Regions from separate parts of the Homo sapiens genome. Here region 1 is linked to region 2. The links are contacts of gene promoters, found by promoter capture Hi-C in human tissues and cell types (Jung and others, 2019). All regions are on one chromosome and are shown on one strand. Each heading gives the region's core, a stretch centred on a gene start or on the middle of the fragment in contact. The rest is flanking DNA. Distances are from core to core; before and after follow the strand shown.

The links. The method cuts DNA at HindIII sites, captures the fragments that hold promoters and counts their contacts. A contact is called where the count stands out against the background at its distance.
Region 1: a contact is called between a fragment that was not itself captured here and the fragment with the promoter of SLC10A1 in region 2, in 1 of the 25 tissues and cell types used here (dorsolateral prefrontal cortex).

What each region holds. Positions count from the first base shown.
Region 1 is chr14:70,335,893-70,343,598 of GRCh38, forward strand. All of the region lies in intron 3 of SYNJ2BP-COX16 (SYNJ2BP-COX16 readthrough), which reads right to left. It overlaps COX16 (cytochrome c oxidase assembly factor COX16), which reads right to left. Exons shown (of 4, transcript NM_016468.7): 2 at 6,766-6,837. Among named protein-coding and RNA genes, the nearest start is that of COX16, 20 kb to the right of the region's middle. The HindIII fragment of the contact is 4,614 bases long and covers 2,590-7,203 here.
Region 2 is chr14:69,791,512-69,799,175 of GRCh38, forward strand. SLC10A1 (solute carrier family 10 member 1) reads right to left here and starts at 5,730. Exons shown (of 5, transcript NM_003049.4): 1 at 5,289-5,730. The coding sequence starts at 5,644. RefSeq lists an enhancer at 1,501-1,795. The HindIII fragment of the contact is 13,632 bases long and covers 1-7,664 here.

The DNA.
Region 1 (7,706 bases), core at 3,647-6,146, 540 kb after region 2:
ACAAAGAAAATTAATCAAAGGTTTTGGGATGTATTCTAAAATGGTAAAACCAAGGAAGTAATTACTATAAAAAGCACAGTAGGGCCAGGTGTGGTGGCTCATGTCTGTAATCCCAGCACTTTGGGAGGCCAAGGCAGGTGGATCATGAGGTCAGGAGATCAAGACCATCTTGGCTAACACAGTGAAACCCTGTCTCTACTAAAAATACAAAAAATTAGCCGGGCGTGGTAGCATGCACCTGTAGTCCCAGCTACTCGGGAGGCTGAGGCAGGAGAATCGCTTGAACCCAGGAGGCGGAAGTTGCAGTGAGCCAAGATTGCACCACTGAACTCCAGCCTGGACCACAGAGTGAGACTTCGTCTCAAAAAAACAAAAAACAAAAACAAAAACAAAAAAGCGCAGTAGTGTTTATGCTAGGGCCAAGAGGAAGACATGGAGCGGCAGGAGGAGAGATTAGGAAGCAGCACACAGAATGGGTCTGGAATGCTTAACAATTTTTACTTTTTGACACAGATGGTGGTTACTTGGGTTTTCAGTTTATGATAATTTATTAAATTGTACATGTATGTTCAATATACTCCTTGGTTTCTGTATTGTGTTTCACAACAAAACAACTTAGATAAATAAAAATAAAATAATGAATTACTATATTAATAATTGCATGTATGTAAAAGGGATAAAACACAAACCTACAATACAAGTTAACTTCCTCATATGCTTTCAACTAAGAAAACAGCAAATGACCTACTGTTGGTGGGCACGAGGAACTGACTGTATTATTGAGAGATATATCTGTACTTTGTGTGATTTAAAAGAAATTTTTAGTGCTAATTTTGATTGTGTGAAATTTCTGCCTTACCAGCATACATTAAAATCAAACCTCTACCTAAGATGCTACTCTATTGTATAATGCTTTGATAAACTTTCTTCCTGTATCTTTATTTTCTGTACAAAATTTATCCAATAATCTAAAATTTATCCAATAATGTCAAAGTAATTTGCAAAACAAAATAATCAACCAAAAAATGCTATTACTGCAGTCTCTTGGAGTTTAAGAGATAAAGACCCACTAAAGGAAGGGTTCCAAAAGAGCTTAGAGTTGAAAGCCCATTTTTTCCCTGGAAACCCTTGACACACCTGGTAAACCCATAGGATAAGAACAAAGGTTTGAAACCAGGCAGATGGCTGCTACTGGAGGTCACAGAAACCACCACACAGGGCTATAATGACAAAAAGTAGAGATCAAAACATGCAACAGTTTTGAAATTCTAGAACTGCATAAGATAGAAGTATACCACTAGGTTGAAAATTCTCTGAAAAGTAGAGCAGAATTTCCTGGAGTATCAATTTAAAGCCATGTAGGTCCATGGACATTATTTATAAACAACTATAGAGGTTCCAGATGATATTGTTTTCCTCCAGGAAAGGCTTATCCTTTTTTCTGCAATACAGACAGATTGGGGGCTAGGAATAGTGAAGAAACAGAGAGGATAGCCTAAGTCTTAATTAACTGAAGTCAAGCCAGGACCTGGCTCACTCCTGGATGATAGTAAGATGGAGCAGCCCTCAATCTATCTGCATTGCAGAAAAAAGGATAAGCCTTTTATGGAAGAAAACAATACCATCTGGAACCTCTATAATTGTTTATAAATAATGTCTAGTATTTAATTTAAAAATTATGAGGCATGTTTAAAGATAGAATCATATAACTGAAAAAACAAGAGAAAAATAAAGCAGATCTATAGTGATCCTTATGTTGGAGACAGGCCTTTTAAGTAACAATAATTTGTATATGTTCAAGATATCAAAGGAAAAAATAGATTAAAATATGGCATCATAGAAGATTTCTCCAGACTACTAGAATGTGTAATAAAGAATTAAATGCATTTTAAAACTAAAAAATATAGTAACTGAAATCACTAAATCAAGGGATGGCTTCATGTGGAGATTGAACACAGCAAAAAAGAGGTTTAGTGACTAGAAGATAACACAATAGAAAATATACAAAATAAAGTACAAAAAAAAAATGAGGGGAAAACAAAACATTGAAAAATCATAATAGAAATGTTGGGCATGAAGAATATAACACACATCTGATTGGTATCCCATAAAGAAAACTCGGCAAAAGCAACAACTGACAAGATAATGAACAATTTTTGGTTTTACATTTTCTGTGGTTTCATTAAAATCTTCAAAGAAATCAGAAGATAATTTGGCTTTTTGGGTCTCTTGTTTTTTTGAGACAGGGTCTCGCTCTGTCACCCAGGCTGGAGTGCAATGGCACGATCACAGCTCACTGCAGTCTCAAACTCCTGAGCTAAATCAATCCTCCCAGATCAGCCTCCGAGTAGCTGGGACTGCGGGCACGCACCACCACGCCTGGCTACTTTTTTCATTTTTTGCAGAGATGAGGCTTCACCATATTGCCCAGGCTGGTCCTGAACTCCTGATTCAAGTGATCCACCAACCTTGGCCTCCCAAAGTGCTGGGATTAACACATGTGAACCACCATGCCCGGCCCCAGAAGATAATTTGAAAGTCAATTTTTTCTAAATCAAGTACCTAAGAGCTAAGGTGGACATTTCTTGGTGCCATTTTTCTGTTTAGCATTGATATACTATAGAAAGCACGATCCTTGGTAAAATTTAACAGTATACATAGGAGGTCAACAAACCTGGTACCAGTCCCCCTTTTGTTCACCCATAGGATATTTTAGTAGTTCTAACCTCTGAATCAGAAAAATGTCACTTTAGTCAGTTTCATAGAGCAATCAAGAGAACAATATGATAATGCATGTTCTCACTGGTATGGTATACACAAGCTAACTCAGCAGCTCTATTTTAGACTGAGTATAGTGTTGTATTTTGGGGAGATGAGTAAACTTATGATTGATTTATAAGTACTTGCCTGCCTCATCGTGGACCTGTGAGATTCAGTCTTCATATCTGTTTTCACATTCCTGTCTCCACCATGCCCAATCTAATTTCTTGTTTGCGTATTGTGCAGTATGCTCCGTTTTGGTTATTTAACTCCTTAATCCAGTTGTATGTGTCCTTCCATATGTCATTAAAGTAACAGAGTCATTTAGCTTTCCTTTTCAGTGATGTCTGAATCATACTGGCACTGATATTATAATTGTTCTCATTTTCATTATCTAATCTTAGAAAACACGGTCACAATATTTATAATGTTAAAAATTAACACCATCTGTTACAAAGCACAACAGGCAGGCAAAGTCGAAGACTTACTGCTCGCAATTGCAATGTACTTATATTGCACACTTAAATCACATCTTTTGGTGTGATCCAACAATGTATGACCCATTATTGTGGATCCTTGGTGGTTAGAATCAGCACTCATGAGAAAAAAACAGCAACAGCCACTAGGGACAGCAGATAAACTATTCCAAATCATTTTCTAAAACTTGAAAGCTGTTGCTTCCAGCCCTTACTTTTTTAGGCTTATACTTTCCCATGAACTTTGCACATCCATTACTGAGAAGCAAGATTTTTTTTTCCTGGGATGCCAAACTTTCAGTACAAAAATCAGGACTGTCTCAAGCAAACAATGACGGTTGGTCACCCCAAATCCATATTGTGCTTTCTACATCCTTTTCCAAACTTCTCAACTGAACCCATCCTCTCTTGATCCAATTTGTTCCTTTAGACCACAGTGTCAACCCCCCTTGACCTCAGCAATTTACCCTCTTGACCACCCTAACCTCAATCTCTCAACCCATGCAACCACTATCAGCCTCAAACAATCTTATCCTTTCAATCCTGAAGAACAAAACTCAACCTCTTAACTCCTCTCAACATTACCTCATCCTCTCTACCTAACTGGAACTCAACCTCACCCAAACACTGACTCTTGATCACCTGAGTTTGACTTTTCAACATCATCAACCAACCTCGGCCTCTAAATGTCATAAGCCTTGTCTTCTGATCCTTCTCACCTCAACCATGTCCTCTCATCTTCCTCCTACAGACCTTAACCATCCTCCTTCTTTTAACCTCATTCCCTTGACTTCAACTGACCTTGTCCTCACAACTTCAATCAACCTCATTCTCTTAACCTTACCTAATCTTGTTCCGTTTACTTTGACTCCATTTCCTAAACCTCATCTGGTAGCTCAACCTCCCCTGTTCTCCTTAACTGGGTGATATGGTTTGGCTGTGTCTGTACCCAAATCTTATCTTGAATTGTAGTTCCCATGTGTCATGGGAGGGACCTGGTGGGAAGTAATCAAATCATGGACGTGGTTTCCCCCATGCTAGTCTCATGATAGTAAGTTCTCACAAGATCTGACGGTTTTATAAGGGATTTCCCCCTTTGTTAGGCTCTCATTTCTCTCTCCTGCCGCCATGTGAAGAAGGTCATGTTTGCTTCCCCTTCTGCCATGACTAAGTTTCCTGAGGCCTCCCCAGTCTTGTGAAACTGTAAGTCAATTAAACCTCTTTTCTGTATAAATTACCCAGTCTTGAGTAGGTCTTTATTAGCAGTGTGAAAACAGACTAATACACTGGGTTATTGGCACCACCATTTACCTAGTCCTCAAAACCAAAACCTTGAGACATCTTAGATTTATTCATATTTTTGTATTACATACATTAGTCATCAAATACTATCAATTTGCTGCTAAAATTATTGCTGGAACTCATTAATTTCTCTTTATCATCGTTGCAAATATTTTATTTCAGGTTCCATTATTGTTCATCTATGCTACTGCCCCAGAATCCTAACAGATCTCTTTACTTCCAACCTAAACAATATTTTCTCTTCTCTCTTGCTCCCCCAATACCCATCCACCTGTACTCCACTGCCAGAGAGTTAGTTCTAAAATGAAACACTGACCATGTGCCCAATAATCCCTCTACCTTATAGAATATAAGTCATTTCTATCATTTAGCTAATTCCTACTCATTCTTAAAGCCTAATTCAAAGGCTAATGCCTTTAGAAAACTTTCTCTGATTCTCCTTTTCCAAGTTAAAACTATACACCTCTCCTTGAACGTCTAGTAATGGCATTTTACTGGCATTGCTATATTATATGTCTGGGTACATTTTTTTAATTAGCTGTCTTCCAGCCTCAATTATAAACTTTATAAGTACTAGTTTCTGAATACTTTACTTGCAGCATCTAACAAGTATTAACACATGACCACTATTCAATTATTTTTCAAATATATACTTATTTTCTCCCTTCCAAATGTCATATACTACCATAATTTTCATCTTAAAGGGAAAAAGAAAAAAATTCCTTGATAAAATAATTGGGATGCTAACTGAAAGCTTTTAACACAGTTAAATTGAAAGTTGCTAACTGAAAATTAAGTAAAATTCCTCATTAAATAAAATTGTTCTAATCCTTCATAGAAAGTACACATTTTTTTAAATTTAAAATTTACCCTAATACCTACTGTCCTTAAAACTAGCTGATGTTGGTTTCTCTAAAACCATAAAATTAACTGAGGAAACTGAATAGGACTTTATACTCTACTTTTCTATCAATATTACTGAGGTCTGCTAATAAAATACATATATTACTTGAGAAAAAAACTACAAATATCAGATATGTGCCATAAACAAAAGCTATGTACTTCTGAATGAAAAAACCAGAGTTCTTATGTGTCCTGAATTTCACAATTGTGTGATTAGAGGGTGAGAATCCTAGCTCTACCCCTAAGTAGCCATGTGACCTTAGCCAACTTAGATAAGCTTTATTTTTCTTCAGTTTTTTCAAGTAAAGACCCACTATAGTTAATGTATAGACCCCCTCAGTTTCCTCACCTGTAAAATAAAGACGATAACATATAGCCCCAACTTGCAATGTTTCAACGTACGTTTCTTTTACTTTACGATCCATTTAATCAGATATTAAATGCATTTTTTACTTATGATATTTTCAATTTACAATGAGTTTAGCAAGACATAACCCCATTATAAGTCAAGGATCATCTGTGTGTGTGTGAGTGTGTGTGTGTATGAACTAATATAGTCCTACTACAAAGTAGATACTATAAATGTAGCTGTCTTTATTTATACTGAAAAATAGTTTTCCTTTTAGTAACAGTTATTAAAGATACATATCAATATACTTTATACAATTACTGATATTAATATTAAATTAAGAGAAATAAAATAAAGCAAAATTATTGACCTCTGTTTTTTAATCCCTTCTAAATTCTAAAAACAGCTACATCAGATCATATTTTGTGGGAGAATGCTAACAACATTGCAAATTTCCTAATGAAATAAGAAAGATTACTAGACTGGGCACAGTGGCTCACACCTGTAATCCCAACACTTTGGAAGGCCAAGGCGGGTGGATCATTTGAGGTCAGGAGTTCAAGACCAGCCTGGCCAACATAGTGAAACCCCATCTCTACTAAAAATACAAAAATTAGCCGGGTGGTAGTGGCGCACACCTGTAATCTCAGCTACTCGGGAGGCTGAGACAAGAGAATTGCTTGAGCCTGGGAGGCAGAGGTTGCAGTGAACCAGGATAGGCCACTGCACTCCAGTCTGAGCGACAGAGTGAGACCCCGTGGCAAAAGAAAAAAAGAAAGATTACGAAATTAGTTACATTTCATGATTCACTGCCATGTGATCACTAATGTTATTTTAAAGAAAAAAACAAAGATCACATCTTAGTGTTGAAAAGCAAGACAAACTCAGACTACTTAGTATACTGAGTATACAATTCTCCTAAACCAGAACATACATATAGACAGACACATGTCAAACTCTAATTATATTTCTTACTTTACTCTTCACAGCATCATATCGGATTTGAGAAAACTCACGAAGACCAAAAGAACCTCCAACAATCAGCAACTAAAACAAAGAAAGGAAACATTTAAGCAAAACAGAAGACCAGAATTCAAATTCAGCCTATCTATAGATTGCTTTTCTAAACAACAATAGAGGCACATTATACAAAAATTCTATAGATTATTTTTCCTGGTGAGTCACCATTCATCTTTTAGAGTAAATGCAGTATATACTGGCTAGGAAATCATTATAGCACATCATTACCAAATACCAAAATCGTCACCCTATACCTGTATTTGACCTTATGATTTAAATGACATCATAACAAGCATTGTATTATCTGACTCTTACAATAGACCTATTTTTGTTTTTTGCTAAGAAAAAAACAAAAACAAAAACAAATTCAACAAATGAGGAAATAAAAGCACAGCCAGCTAAATGACTTGTCCATTGTTAACTTAAATTTTGCCCAGGGATGTCTCTGTAATTCCATTGCTATGCGATCTTCCTTAGTAAGTAATGAAATTGAAACCTGATCAACTGATCAGACCATGTCCAAATAAGGCAGATGCCTAGCTATAACCAACCAAGCTATTTCTGTACTTCACTTTCCTGTTTTGTCTATACTCATTGCCCATATTGCAGAATGGAGCTCTCTCAACTTCTGGTTCTGAGTGCTGCCTGATTCATGAATTTTCTTTGTTCAAATAAACTCTATAACATTATTGTTTTTTTGTTTAAGGTTTTCCTTCTTTTCGTACTATGATTACACAAGGTAAACCCAGCAGTAAAACTTGCCATTTTTTCCTTCAAGACCAGAATTCTTTTGATTTTATGATTTTTCAAAATAAGGCAATTGGAGTTCTCATTACCTTACCAAGTGATAAAGAAATCTCATGAAAACTTGCTGCAGAATATTCTGTATATCACAT
Region 2 (7,664 bases), core at 4,480-6,979:
GGATGGTTTCGATCTCCTGACCTCGTGATCGGCCAGCCTTGACCTCCCAAAGTGCTGGGATTACAGGCGTGAGCCACTGTGCCCGGCCCATGATTTTCAAGAACAAAGTAGGGGGACTTAACTTTCAGATAACAAAACTTATAAAATTGTAATTAAGAAAGTGTGGAACTGGTACAAGGGTAGCCACATAGACCCGTAGAAGAGAAGAGAGATCCAGACACAAGCCCTGCATTTATGAGAGAGATGTCATTACAAATACCTGGAGAAAAATTCACTCAACGTGGCTTGGAATCTTCTATTTGTATGGAAAAGATAAAATTAGTTCATGCCATACATAAAAATAAGTTCTACATTGATTGGAGCTCTCCATGTGAAAATCAAACATTTAAAACTTTTCAAAGAAAATACAGGGTAATATCTTTGTAACTTTGTAGACAGTAAATTTTTTTTTTTTTTTTGAGACAGGGTGTTGCTCTGTCGCCCAGGCTGGAGTGCAGTGGCATGATTTTGGCTCACTGCAACCTCTGCCTCCTGGGTTCAAGTGATTCTCATGCCTCAGCCTCCTGAGTAGCTGGGATTACAGGTGCACATCACCATGCCCAGCTAATTTTTTTGTATTTTTTAGTAGAGACGGGGTTTTGCCATGTTGGACAGGCTTGTAGATAGTAAAAGATTTCTTAAAGAAACCCCTAAAAAACATAAACCACAAAGGAAAAATATTGGCAAATTTGACTAAATTAACATAAGCAATCTATCAGACATTATTATCAAAGTGTAAAGACCAGCTCCAAACTGTGAATAGACTGTTGCAACATATATAAAACAATAACTTTAGAAATTAATTTTCAAAACCCACCCAAACCACAATCCCATAGAAAAACAGGCAAAGGACCCAATGTTTCCAGAAGAGGACACATGAATGGCCAACGCACACGTGGAAATGTGGTAGGCCTCCCATGAAATCAAATTTAAAACTACTGCGATCTGCTTCACTGTTTTCATTTGGAAAAAATTAAAAAGTCTGACAATTCCAAATATAGATGAAGGCACAGAGAAACAGGGATCTTCAGACACTGCTAGGGAACGTGTGAAGTGAACAATGACCTTGGAGACCTCTTAAAGATGTGTGACTCCCACGACCCAGCAGTCCTGCTTCAATTGCATATGCCCTCATGTGGGCAGAGGGACACACACAAGTCTGTTCACAGAAGCGAGACGTAAAATCCACATGAATCTGACAACAGGAGAATGGATAAATGCAAGCAAACTGCACAGCAGTTCAGATACATGAGGTAGCTATTTTCTTTACATGCCTATTTCTCAAAAAAAAAAAAAAAAAGCAAGCTGTTAGGTGATGTGGACAGTATAATACTGTTCGTACAAAATTAAAAGACGTAAATCCCGCAGTCTATCTTGTTTATGAATATATACGTATATAATAGTTGAAAAGGGTCGGTGGAAATGCTGAACACCAAATTCCCAGGGATGCTCCCTTTGGCAAGTGGTGGAGGGTAATGAGATTGGGAATAGGAATACAGGGGGTTTCAATGCTACTGTTGATCTTCTCTTAGGGAAAAGCCAAACACAACTTGTGTGTTTGTTCTGGTGACCTAGAGCAGAGGAATCATGCTTACTTTGGCTTGTGTGTCAGGAGTTTTGGAGTTTGGACTTGGTGTGCCTTGTCAGCTTGGGTATGCAGGAGCCATGTTCCCTGATCCCCAGGTACTTCCTCCACTTGCACAGGTCCTGGGGTCAGGTCAGGGACATCCATCTCCTAGCCTGCTGGCATCCGTGACTGTTGTGATCCTTGGTTTACCCCAAGGGACAGGGACGGGCAAGGACTTTTTCAGACTCTAGATTCCTGAGATTGTAGGCCTGGTTGCCTTTCAGGGGGAAAGGGGCACATTTGTTTTTTTTATTTTTCCCTCCTGCTTAAGTTCCAAGAGCACAGCATAGACCTTGCTTTTGGACATCTGTGTACCCCATTTAAGGGACTCGTTCGAGTGTCCGTCAATGCACAGATTGGAGGCAGAAGCTGAGGGAGCTGTGAGGGGCCTCAACACAGTCTCTATGAAGTGGAAAACTTCTGGGACCCCAGTGGCTTCCATCTTGTCCTGGTTGAGCTTCCTACATCATGGCTGGGAGACCTGTGGAAGTGCTTGGGTTGTGTCCAAGCCCATTGTCCCCATGGCCATTGGCTCTGGGCTCTGCTGTGAGTCCGATGGTGGCAGGGGGAGCAGATGAACTTGGGGCAGCAAGGATGGTCAAAAGAGGCCAGTTCCTGCTGGCATAGCACTCTCTTCTCTGTGCCTGACAAGCCATACTCACTTCAACTGTGAGGGCGTTTTCTCTTGCCTGTTTGTCACCTACATTTTTTGAAACTTGTCTAGTGGCCTTCCTTGAGGAGGGAGCTGCCGTCCCTGGCTGCATTGAGGGGTCTGCTTGGTGGCCTGGCCTCCTGGGATGGCAGGCTGTCCCCAGACTGACTCCACCTATGAGGCAGAGTGAGTGGAGGGAGACACAGTTTCCCACAAACTCTGGGAAACCTCTGGCAAGTCTCTGACCTCAGCCTCTTCATGTGTAAAATGGGATCTGTGTCTTACAATTCCTTCCAGTTCTAAATGGGATGTAGAGTATTGTGCTTATCTCAAACTGGGGCCTTTGGGCTACAGCTGGCCCTTTGACATGTATTGTTTGGTTTGCACATTTAAAAAAATGGAATGAGTTGCTGATTTCACATAAAATGGATATTTTACCTTCTTTTGAAAAGTGGGAAGCTCTGGCTCCCACACAATACTTGCTGCTGAGACACGGGTGTCTGCCCATGCCTTTGAGGCTGTCTGGCCATTTTGTTTGTGGAAATGCTGACCTGGAAGATATTTCAGTAAAAGCACAGGTTCCGGAGCCACCCAGACCTGGAGCCAATGTATTGACCTCTCTAAGATTCAGTTTCCTTACCTCTAAATGCTACTTGTTACATGCTGTCCCCCAGGGTGCTGTAGGAGGATCACATATACTTATCCAGGTAAGGTGTTTAGCACTGTGCCTGGCTGTTTCTTATAATCGTTGTCATTATTATAATGCATGTAACAAGTTGTCCCAAATTGGAATGGGATTTGAAGTCTGGCAGCACATGAAGGTAGATGACCAGATTCCCATTCCGACAGTGGGATCTGAGACATGGTTTAATGTGCATGGGAGGGTTGTTTGTTGGGAAGGAGTTTTATGGCAGAAGGTGGCTGTCCCAGCAGAGCTTATCTCTTGTGGGGGTCTAGGTAAAAATGACAGTCATCAGGGGTCTGGACAAGGAGGTTGAGCAGGAGAGCATGAGGGGTCATGTTCTTGAGTCACCAGAGGCTCTGCCTGGGTGGGGCCTAGAGCCACAGCAATGTAGGCATTGTGGCAGAGGCCTCAATAGTGGCCACTGGCGATGGGGCTGGGACATCTGGCCACTCACACTTAAAAGCACAGTTGCCTTCCACGTCCCCTGCTCTGCTTCTTCCACAGAAACACAAAGCCCTCAGAGTACCCCTTCGCAGGCCCCTGACTTCTGCATCCCTCATACACCAAAATTCAGATATACTCTAGGATTCTTGGGACACACAGGCTGCCATGAGCCTTGTCCAGAAGCCAGATCCAAGACCAAGGGCTTGCTTTGTAGCAGAGAGGATGTGGATTAGACAGAGGAAAGCATTTTCTCACAGTGAGGTAGTTGAACATTGAAATACCTTTCCGTGGGTGATGGCACAAGCCAAATGCCCTCTTTGTGCCTCTCTTCCCATTGACTACTAAAGTGAGGGCTGAATCATATGGAAAAAGAGCCCAGAGCTTCTCAGATGGCAGATCCTGTTAAACCCCAACTCTCATTCACTCTCACTTTTTTATTTCCTTTTTTTTTTTTTTTTTGAGAGAGAGACAGGGTCTCACTCTGTTGCCCAGGCTGGAGTGCAGTGGTGTGATCATGACTCACTGTAGCCTTGAACTCGTAGGCTCAAAGATCCTCTCATCTCAGCCTCCCAAGTAGCTGGGACTACAGGCATGTGCCACTATGCCTGGCTAATTAAATATATATGTATATATTTGTAGACACAGGGTTTTGCTATGTTGCCCAGGTTGGTCTTAAACTCCTGGTCTCAAGTGATCTTCCTGCCTTGGCCTCCCAAAGTGCTGGGATTATAGGTGTGAGCCACCGTGCCCAGCCATTCTCACTTTTTTCATTTAAAAAATCTGTCCCAGTGTCATTTTGCATCACTAGGAGGGGCTTCTTGACTGGGTTAGTTTTCCTAGGAAAGTTTGGCTAGGAGTAGGGTGCTGACAGACACAAGCAGATGGACTTTCTGGGTTCTGCTGCTATACCTGGCATTGAATAGCGTCTCCACGGAGGACTAAACCAGGGGGGACTGGCTTGAGACTGAGGTTTCACTGAAAGCAAGAGCTTCTGCTAGTGAGTTTTCTTTAGCTTCAGCACAGGCTGCTGGAGCTGGAGCAGGTCTGAAGTAGCTCCTCTGGCAGATGTTCAAGACTAGAGTCTCCCCAGTTTGGAAGGATGAGCATCAACCAGCCCCTGTGTGCTGCGTCTCCAGGAGCGAGCCCTTGCTGATTTCTGCTTATAATGCTTTGGGCAGGGGGTTAGGGGGTGCTGCTGTCTTCCCCTTATCAGGGTGGCTGAGATGGGGCTGGCCTATCTGGAGTGGGTGCTGGGAAACTCTAGGATCTCCCTGGTTGTGCCTTTGCATGGAAATGTCATTGCATCTGATGGGGAATGAGGGACTTTAAAGAGAAAACATCTTAGATGACCAGGTAATTGGGAGGACCTTTTGGAAATTCTTGCCCGCTTTGCAGGAATTTGAGGTGCTCATTTGGTTCCAAGTCACCTTGATCTCCCTGATGATGTTTGGAACGAATCACACTACCTTTTAAATCTCTGGGCTCAAAGCAGGCAACTTGTCCACTGTTGTAGGTGGATGCAGTTCTCCAGAGGTTCCTTTGGCTTTAATCAGTGCTCCTTTAAGACAATCCTTGAGACACCTCTGGAAGCAAGGAGATCACCACGAGCTTCCTGGACCAGTATGGTCCCTTTGGCTTGGTGCCTAAACCAGACGTACCCCAACTCCTGCCCCCATCCCAGCATAAGCTCTTGGCAATAAATGCCAGACTTCCCCTGCCCTAGCCTCCACCCAGCCTGCATTCACTCCTTTTCCTGGCTTTAGCCCAGCTCTTCCCCTCAATTGTGACATATCTAATGTAGCTCCTGTCCCAGGCTGTTCCCTCCTCACCCCCAGGCCTACCTGAGGTTCATGTCCCCCTTCATGGCCAGACTGAAGACATTGGACAGGTTCCCTCCAGGTGAGCAGCCACAGACCAAGATGGCCAGTGCCTCAATGTTCTTCAGCCGGAAGACCTTGCCCAGCACAAAGGCCGTGAGGGGCATGATGCCATACTGTGCCACCAGGGCGATGGCCAGCCCTTTAGGCTTCCATAAGTGAGCCTTGATCTTGCTGAACTCCATGGTGCAGCCCAGCGAGAGCATGATGAAGAACAACATGAACACCAGGATGACGCTCAGTGCCAGGTCTGTGGGGCGCTTGCCAAAGTTGGGTGGCAGGGTGAAGTTGAATGGGGCAGACGCGTTGTGGGCCTCCATCCTCCTGTGAGGCAGTGGAAGACCACTCCTTGTTCTCCGGCTGACTCCGTTTCTTGTGCAGTTCTTGCTGGATGCCTTCTTTAATCACCTCTCAGGACAGAGAGTTTCTGGACAAAAGCTCTGGGCAAATAGAAGGGTTATGCAACTATCTGAGCTATTTCTCTGGCTGTCGCCCCAAAGAGGAACAGCCCAGAACCTTATCTGCCTGCCCTAGCTCTCCCAAGCTCCCTGACCTCTGCTGGATTCCTGGGTGCTACTTGTACTCCTCCCTTGTCACTTTGCTGCTTCTGGGCTTATTTCTCCCCTTTGCCCTCCACTGAGTGTGCCTCATGGGCATTCATTCAGTTACTGGGGACCTGCCCAGGGCCCACCTGAATCTAGGTCCAGCCCATCTCCTTCCCTGCAGCTCCTTTTCCCAGCTCCGCTCTTGATTCCTTAGTTTCTTGGTTGGGGGAAGGTGCCCTCCCCATGTCCAGTGGGTTATCATTTGTCCCCAGAACCCATGAGAGTGAAAGGAGCTGGGTGTTGCCTTTGGTTCCTAGATACAGGTAGCATAGTCCAAGGGGGTGTGGGACAGGCAATGTCACTGGCCTCCAGGAGGGGATGTGTCCATGACCCTTTTCCTGGGAGCTGAGAGGATGCCAGTATCCTCCCTGCCTGTTCTGGGGAAATGTTTGTTTTATCCCCAAACTGGGACTGTATGAGTCCCAGGGAGGAATACTGGTGGTGGCTGCTCCACACTACCTGGAATGCTTACCATCAGAGGGAATAACCAGCTGGGATGGTGGGTGGGCTCTCAGGAAGCTTGGAGGCTCTTTCCCCGAAAAGCAACCTGAGAGAACCCTGGCTGTGGAGATTGCTTTGTGCCCGAGGAGGCCCATTGCTTGCAAAACTTGCTGAGAAGGAAGCAGGAATGCAGTCTTTTCTTCCTGACTTCCTGATTGCTTTACTTTTGCACTGGGCCTGTGTGTTTCAGGCTGGGAGCCAGGCTTGGGGCGTGGAGCAGAAGCAGAGAGAGGTGGGCATGCCAGGGGCGGGGCCACCTAGTGTGTGAGGTTATCCTAGGCCTTGCTCTTTCCATCTATCCCCACTGCAGAGGTGGGACAAGGGAGGAGGGGTCTCCTTCAGAAACACAATTGCTTCTTGGCTTGGTTGGAACCTAGGAGGCCTGGGTGGGGTCTGAAACAGGTGATTAGGCTTTGTATGTAGGACTCCAGAGGGCAGAATAGGGACCAGGGTGTGAACCACTGTTGGGTGGAGGTGGGGACAGATTTTGGCTTGGTGCAAGGAACCACCTGAAAATGAGAGCTCTCCAAGAATGGCCTTGAGGCCTCTGGAATCCTGCTTGGATAAGGGTTGGATGGCAGGATCCATACATATTGCATCATATCCATGAAAAGGCTGCTCCCTGGGCTTGCGCGGTGGGCAGCCTGCGGGGCCGTATACTGTGGCCCTGGGTGACATGAACTTGAAGCCTCTTTTCCTTTGAGAGTCTCTGCTAATGATTTCCTGGTGCTTGAGTTGGGCTGGTATCAAAGGGAGGGCAGGCAGAGGACTGGGCACTGGATGTGATGCCTGGACTGAGCGTTCCCACAGGGTAGGGTTGAGTCTCAGAGGAGGCTGCTTCCTCTCCCTGGGGCTAATCAGAAGGGAACAGAGTTGCTAGGGGAGAATTATTGATCACTAACTGAGTACCAGGCACCATGGGAGGCAAAAAAAATAAAAATAAATAAATAAAAAAAACTATATAATTCATGTTCCTGTTCTCAGGGACCTGATGGTCTGTACAAGACCACAGATGGCCAGATGGTACACAATGCAATATGGAAGCACGTGAGGGTGGAGGCCATGCAGGGCTGCCAGGTACACCTGTTCAGGTTGGGCACTACACAATGCTAGGGACGCCACTCTACAGATGTCTTGTGCAACCGTACATGAGGCCTTGAAGTCAAAGGGAGACGTTAGGTTTTTACACATTTGCCTGATGCCAAAGGGTGAGGAGGAATTGACCAATATCTGT